2 separate regions of the Homo sapiens genome follow, and region 1 is linked to region 2. Evidence: promoter capture Hi-C in 16 types of primary human blood cells and fetal thymus (Javierre and others, 2016). All regions are on one chromosome and are shown on one strand. Each heading gives the region's core, a stretch centred on a gene start or on the middle of the fragment in contact. The rest is flanking DNA. Distances are from core to core; before and after follow the strand shown. Region 1 holds the start of MKRN1 (makorin ring finger protein 1). Region 2 holds the start of AGK (acylglycerol kinase).

Region 1 (3,652 bases), core at 83-2,582, 1.1 Mb before region 2:
CTCAGAGAGCTCAAAGTGAACGATAAGGATCATAGACCGGGTGCGGTGGCTCACGCCTCTAATCCCAGCACTTTGGGAGGCTGAGGCCGGCAGATCACCTGAGGTCGGGAGTTCAAGACCAGCCTGACCAACACGGAGAAAGCCCGTCTCTACTAAAAATACAAAATTAGTCAGGTGGGCATGGTGGTGCACGCCTGTAATCCCAGCTACTAAGGCATCTGTAATGCCAGAGACTGAGGCAGGAGAATCAATTAAACCTGGGAGGCGGGGGTTGTGGTAAGTAGAGATCACACCATTGCACTCCAACCTGGGAAACAAGAGGGAAACTCTGTCTCAAAAAAAAAAAAAAAAAAATGATAGTTGACATTCCTCTATCTAAAGGAGAAAATAGTTTTAAGTAAGAGATCATGTTGGTACCTAGAACAACCGAAAACAATGTCAAACACTAAAACCCCAGACCTATCAAGGAATCTGCACAACAATAAAAAACTGTCTCAAGCAAAAGCTATACAAAAAACCCCCAAAAACTAGTAAATCTAAGCTCTTTCTTTTCTTTCTTTTTCTTTTTTGTTTTTCTTCTGACAGAGTTTCACTTTCGCCCAGGCTGGAGTGAAGTGGTGTGATATTGGCTCACCGCAACCTCTGCCTCCTGGGTTCAAGCAACTCCCTGCCTCAGCCTCCGGAGTAGCTGAGATTACAAGCGCCTGTCACCACGCCCGGCTAATGTTTTTTGTATTTTCAGTAGAGACGGGGTTTCACCATCTTGGCCAGGCTGGTCTTGAGCTCCTGACCTCGTGATCCACCTGCCTTGGCCTCCCAAAGTGCTGGGATTACAGGTGTGAGCCACTGTGCCCGGCCTAATTTTTGTATTCTTAGTAGAGACAGGGTTTCACCATGTTGGCCAGGCTGGTCTCGAACTCCTTACCTCAGGCGATCCGCCCGCCTCAGCCTCCCAAAATGCTGGGATTACAGGCGTGAGCCACCACGCCGACCTAGCCACCCCGACAGGCCGGTTTCAATCTTTTAAAAGATGTAACTAGCACATATAGATCAACTGTAGCATTGTAAAAGGGAAACAGATATTCAAATAATTTGCTCCATGAGTAGAAACTTTAAAATCATCATTCCTGGCAATATTCCACTTTTACAATCCACCGATGAATAAGACAAGTGACCTGAAATTGCGTTTATGCTTTCTACATCCCATTATGTAAAATAATTAAGCTTATCCTTCACACCTTAAATGTATCATATCAAAGGCTGAGAGACCTTCGAAGGTCGCCAGGATAAATGTATCACATCAAAGACTGGGAAGGTTTCAAATTTCACCCTTAATACTACAAGTTCTAATTAGGAATCATTTTTACATACTTGCATATAAATTATACCACCCAGGTGAAAACCGGCATTTCAGTTGATTTATTCAACTGATAGAAAAAGAAAAGCTTACAGTCGCTACTGATCACTATTTAAAAACCGGAAAATAAAAAACGTACAATTAAATGCCCTCTTCTGCGTAGAGCTAGGTAGTTTTTTACAACCATACACATCCATACAACCGCCATCCCTTAATTTTTCTAATATTTTCGTCTCGCATATCAAACCAAAACCAAACCTCTCTCTCTTCCGGGAGCGAAGAGCCCTTTCACTCCCTTCGGAAGATGCGTAAATTTCAAAAGAGGAACATAGCGCTGGGGGAGGGTAATAATCTGCAGCTCAAAAAAACCGCGGGTGGAGAAGACGACCCCGGCCCCCGAACGCCTGCTTCTAAGACAAAGCTCAGCACCGCCAACCTCGACAAACATACAAAGAAGAAATACAAAAGCTTCTTCTCACAGTTGGGCGGAGGATGGGGGGCGGAGGGACGGAGGGACGTGAAAAGACGTTACAAACGGATGGCACGGAGAGAGGAGAGGGCCGGGAGCCAGGCAAGCTCGCTGGGGCCCTCGGCGGGGTGTCTAGGCCCGGAGAGGATCGCTGGGAGACCGGCCTCAAGTGACCACCTCCCGAGCCCCGGGAGCCGGAGGCAGCGGCGGGGGCATCCTTCCAGCGGCAGGGGAGGAGCCAGCCCACCTCTCCCCGATGCGCTCGCAGCCAGCTCAGGCAGCGCTCAGGGAAGTGTAAGCGGCGGTGCAGCCCCGCGGCTCCGCAGTAATCGCGCACCGCCAGGCCTCCGCGGACAGCGCTGAGGGCTCCGCGGCCCAGCGGGGGTTGACGCAGTGACTGGGGGAACGCGGCGGCAGCGGGGGCCGCGAGGGCTGCAGAGATCGAGACAACGCCGGTCCCCGCCCTCCCGCGCCTCTAGCCGCAGGCCGGCCGCCCTCCTCCCTCCCGCGCCGCAGGCTTGGCCCGCGGCCCCCTCCCCGCGCCCGGCGCTCCGCCGCGCAACGTCCTACCTGCAGGTGACCTGTTTAGTCCAGCCGCCGCCGCTGCCGTCGCTGCCGCCGCCCCCTCCGCCCGCCCCCAGGGACGGGGCGGTGACTGTGGGGATCGGGGTGGGGGAGGCTGCTGCCGCCGTCGCCGCTGCCGCTCCTGCTCCTGATGTTGTGGCTGTTGTTCCGGGAGTTGCAGCCTCCGCCATTACTGTTTATCCCACACAGCAAAGGCCCCGGAACTTCCGGGATCACATAGTTCCGGTCCGGCTGCGGGGAGAGGACGGCGAGGCCAGGCGAGGGGAGGGGAAGGACACTGAGGCACCCGTTCGGTCCCCGCCTGCTACGCGTCGCGTATCTGAGCGCTCTCGCCACTTCAACTGCGGGCCCAGAGCATGCGCGCCCGCGGCCCGCCCACGGCGCCGCTCATTGGTGGAGGGGACGTCTCCTCCGGAAAGGGGCGGGGCAAACGGGGGTCTGTACAGGTGTGTCCTAGGCTCGAAACCCCGGCGACGAAAGTCCATAGTTAGCGGCTTTCTTCCTAGCAGAGGCTGATATAGTGGAGCTGGGGCTGGGGACTAGGGACTTGCAGTCGGAAGACCTGGGTTTGAATCTGCACTTTCCCATTTCTCTAGTAATATTTGAGCTAGGTACTTGTTCTATCTGAGCCTCCGTTTCAGCCTCTCTCGAATAAGGATGACAGCAGACCCACATATGGTTGCTGTGAGGATTATATGATGTCCTTAGAAATCACTGAGCTTAGTGCCTGGTACATGGTAAACACTTAATAAAGGTTATCTCATTCCTGGTATCAGAGATGTGATCTTGGCCAAGTATTTTGGCTGAGCAATGCTCTAGAGGGCTGGTCCCCTTATCTCCAGGCTTCCCTTTCTAAGCCATGGGTCTTCTAGCAAATTATCCTACCTCTTGGTGCTCCTGCTTTCTCCTCTGTAAAAACGACAATAATAATAATAATAGGCCAGGCGCGGTGGCTCACGCCTGTAATCCCAGCACTTTGGGAGGCTGAGGTAGGCGAATCACCTGAGGTCATGAGTTCGAGATCAGCCTGGCCAACGTGGTGAAACCCCGTCTTTACTAAAAATACAAAAATTAGCCGGGTGTAGTGGCTAGTCCCAGTTACTCAGGAGGCTGAGGCAGGAGAATTCCTTGAACCCGGGAGGCGGAGGTTGCAGTGAGCCGAGATCGCGCCACTGCACTCCAGCTTGGGCGACAGAATGAAATTCCGTCTCAAAATAATAATAATAGTAATAGATAATAGT
Region 2 (3,684 bases), core at 828-3,327:
GGCAATCCACCCATCTTGGCCTCCCAAAGTGCTGGGATTACAGGCTTGAGCCACTGCGCCCAGCCTAACAGAAGTTCTTGGGGCTGCCTAAGTCAGAGTGTCAGGTTTCTGTTGGGCTGCAGGAACCCATTCAGGGCTGGCTAGAGCTTGTGCCTGATTATTCTGGAATCTGAATGCATCCTAGTAAAATGGTATTTGGAAGAGAGTAGAATTGGTATAGGTCTCCAAAACTCCAACCTACACATCTGCCTGCAGGTGTGTATTCAGATTCCCTTAATCTCCTATATTTCCATCCTTCTTCATCCTTCATCAAAGCTGACCTTTTCTTATTTGGGGAACCACTTTCATGCTGAAGCCCTAAAGCATACGCTGAGTCTGACCCTTGGAACATCAAAATCAAGTCTCAGATTTTTCTAGCCTGCAGGTGAGCAGTTCAGAAGCTTATTTCCAAACACAAACGCTTTAGATAGTTGGAAAAGAGGAACTGAAAATAATGGTCTTCCATACCCTATGACAACATTTTAGAGCTAGAAGGGTTTTTTTTTAATAGTAATGTTCTCAGTCCCCTAGTTTACAGATGGAGACTCAGGAGAGAGGGCTAGAAATTTCTTGCTACTAAACAGTGTGGCCCAATGGATTGGTGCACCCTGGCATAAGGAATATGTTTACTGCACCATAGCCTCATTGAAGGTCCCCGCCCCGGCCTTTTTTTTTTGAAGCATTCACCTAGGGAGACATAGGTAGGATGCATGTCTACACGTAGGAAATGTGCAGACTAGATAGCAAGCTCCATGGGGCAGGAACCATGAAGGGCCTTGTACCTGAGCATACCCCCAGTGCCTGATGCAGGGCCTAGTGCACACTCAAATGTTGGTTGACTGGCCGGGTGCGATGGCTCATGCCTATAATCGTAGCACTTTGGGAGGCCAAGGCGGGCAGATCGCTTGAGGTCAGGAGTTCGAGACCAGCCTGGCCAACGTGACAAAACCCCCGTCTTTACTAAAAATACAAAAAAATTTAGCTGGGCCTGGTGGCACACACCTGTAATCCCAGTTACTCGGGAGGCTGAGGCACAAGAATTGCTTGAACCCGGGAAGCAGAGGCTGCAGTGAGCTGAGATTGCACCACTGCACTAGCGCCTGAGCCACAGAGTGAGACCCTGTCTAAAAAAAAAAAAAAGTTGGCAGACTGAATGCTGGAAAGAAGAAGGACCTGGCTTTGTCCCCACACCAATCTGGTGGGCGAGTACAGAATGTAAACTGTCTGGAGGTTGGCATTGGCCTAGCTTCTCCGTTGCTCTCTTGTTCTCTAGAATCCAATCAAGCACCTGTGGCCAGAGAGCTGTGTGAAATGGAAACCAGTCCCACCAGCCCCTGATTGCACCCCCGCAATGTCTTCTCGCCCTGTTTAATGTCATGTCCAAACTCCTGGCCGCCGTGGCCTGTCTCCACCTCTCCAGCTTCCTCGCTTGGCCTGTCTCCTTAGCTCTCTCTGTCTCACCCACACTGGCCTGCAACTCGCCAGAGTGCCCCAGGCTTTTCAGCTTTTGCACGGGCCCTTCCCTCTCCAGGCTCTCTCCCCTGGATCTTTGCTTCAGCTGCTCCTTCTTGACATCCAGGTCTCAGACCAATGGCCCCTTACTCAGAAGGCCTAGCGCAGGCCGCCTAATTTCACACAGTTCTCCCCCTTCCCGCACTGCCTTCCATCACCTCGTTTCATTTTCTTCGTGGCACGGAGCACCATCTCCAATGGCCTTGTTCATTTAGTTAATTTATTTTCCGACTTAGTTCCAGGTGCTAAAACAGTGTTACCTTGGCAGGCTTCCCATCAAATATTGTTGCGCAAAGGATGGATGGATGAAAGGAAGAGTGAGCCAATAAACGAGGGAACGCCGGGAAAGGCAGCCTCAAGCCGGTGGGCCCTGCCACCCCCACCGTCCCTGAGCATCCGAGCCGGTTCCCGCCCCCGGCCCGAACTGGCCCGCGCGCGCTCGCAGCCCCGCGGCGGAACCCGAGGGCGGCGGCAGCGGTTTCCCTTGAACGAGCCGGGGAATCTGGAGGGAGCACACAGGAAAGGCAGAGCCGCGAGCTGGACCAGCCGTGGTGAGTGCAGCGGCGCCCAGGCGGGGAGCGCAGTGCGGGTCGCTGGGACTGAGCGCGCGAGCGGGGTGGGAGTCGGGATGGGGGCCCGGGGCGCTGGGCGGAGCCTCTGGAGTCGCGCTGGGCCGAGAGCCGCGGGGACCCAAGCATCAGGGGTCGTGGGTGCAGGCGGCGGCGCGGCTTGAGGGTAGGGGGTGCGGGCCTGGCCGGCGCGGCAGGGGAGGGCCTCGCGCGGATCCCGTGGTCACGGCGGGAGTCAGCTGTCCTGGGTTCGAGTCCCAGAGCTGTCGCTAACTTGTGGACCCCCCTCACTTCGTCCCTTGGGCTTCAGCATAGCCCTTTGCAAAATGGGGCCAATAGTATCAGATCCATTGATGGGTTGGTTGGTTCATTCATTCTGGCGCTTTACTAGGTTCTGGTGCTGCAGATGGATAGACGAACTTGCCCATGAGGGGTTCACTATCTAGTAAGAAAAACATTTCCACCTGGATACTCCACAGGCGTGTCAAATTCAGTATCTCCTAAACCGCACTACTTTTCTCCACAAACCTACCACTCAAATCTAAATGACTGAAATCACTATTCAACCAGTCACCCAAGCACAAAAACCTGGCTTGGTTCCTCCTCTCTCACTTACTACAGTCAATGGACCACCAACTGCTGCCAATTTCTACTTTCTAAAGCTTTCCAAATCCATCCTTTATCTTGGTTTGTTCTTTTAGGAGCCTACAGATTATGGCAATAACTTCCTAATGGTTCTCTTTAGCTTTAATTTTAGCTTCTTCCAGTTCATTTTTCATTCTGCTATAAAGTGGTCTTTTAACAGTTCAAATATGATTATATCACTCACCTGCTTAAAGCCCATTAAAGGTTTTTCATTGTCTTCAAAATAATAGCCAAAGTCCTTAGTGTGGGTTCAAGGTCTTTTCTAATCCCACCTGGTCTTCAATCCTTTATCTCTAAACCACTGTTTCTCAAAGTCTGGTATAGTGGTGACCTCCATTGCAACCAACATGGGAGTACTTGTTAACAAGTGAAGATGACAGCTTAATTCCAGAACAAATGAGACTCTTGCGGGAAGGGGCAGTTCCCAGGATTCTGTGTTTTTAACAAGTTCTGCACTAAAGGTTGAGAACCCCTGTTCTAGACACTCCAATTTTTACTCCGCTGTTGATGAGATTCAGGACACACTGCCGCAAAATATGACTCGTTGGCATTAGAGGAAACAACTGAAGCAGGAAAGTCACTTTGTGTCTTCCCACTTTTCTCCCCTGAAGCAGGCCATAAAAGAATTGTTTGACCTTCTTCTGTATAAGACCCTTCAGTGAGAGGTGCTCATCCTGTAAGTATAGGATCGAGGAAAGGAATGCCCTTATCTTTGAAGACACAGGTACACAGAGAAGAATCAGAACAAATAGGCCTTGCTAAATTCTCCCCAGCGTATTACTGTTAGATCATACCCCCTTTTTCCAGTCTCAGCCATGAACCTAATTCTCCCCTCAACTATCTACGTATGTTTCTCTCAACACACTTTACTGTCTTTTATGCCTTTGTACACTCTCAGTTTGGGCTACTGTAAAAAAAA

The links. Contacts are between HindIII fragments. The CHiCAGO score rates a contact against its expected background, and 5 or more counts as called.
Region 1: a contact is called between a fragment that was not itself captured here and the fragment with the promoter of AGK in region 2, in 10 of 17 cell types (total B cells, naive CD4 T cells, naive B cells and 7 more). The highest score is 15.3, in total B cells.

The regions. Positions count from the first base shown.
Region 1 is chr7:140,476,764-140,480,415 of GRCh38, forward strand. MKRN1 (makorin ring finger protein 1) reads right to left here and starts at 2,742. Exons shown (of 8, transcript NM_013446.4): 1 at 2,397-2,742. The coding sequence starts at 2,581. RefSeq lists silencers at 1,973-2,052, 2,333-2,472, 2,763-2,872 and enhancers at 2,008-2,848, 3,179-3,652. The HindIII fragment of the contact is 221 bases long and covers 1,223-1,443 here.
Region 2 is chr7:141,549,333-141,553,016 of GRCh38, forward strand. AGK (acylglycerol kinase) reads left to right here and starts at 2,078. Exons shown (of 16, transcript NM_018238.4): 1 at 2,078-2,102. It overlaps AGK-DT (AGK divergent transcript), which reads right to left and starts at 2,012. Exons shown (of 6, transcript NR_183408.1): 1 at 1,812-2,012. RefSeq lists silencers at 1,873-1,962, 2,143-2,322. The HindIII fragment of the contact is 2,342 bases long and covers 439-2,780 here.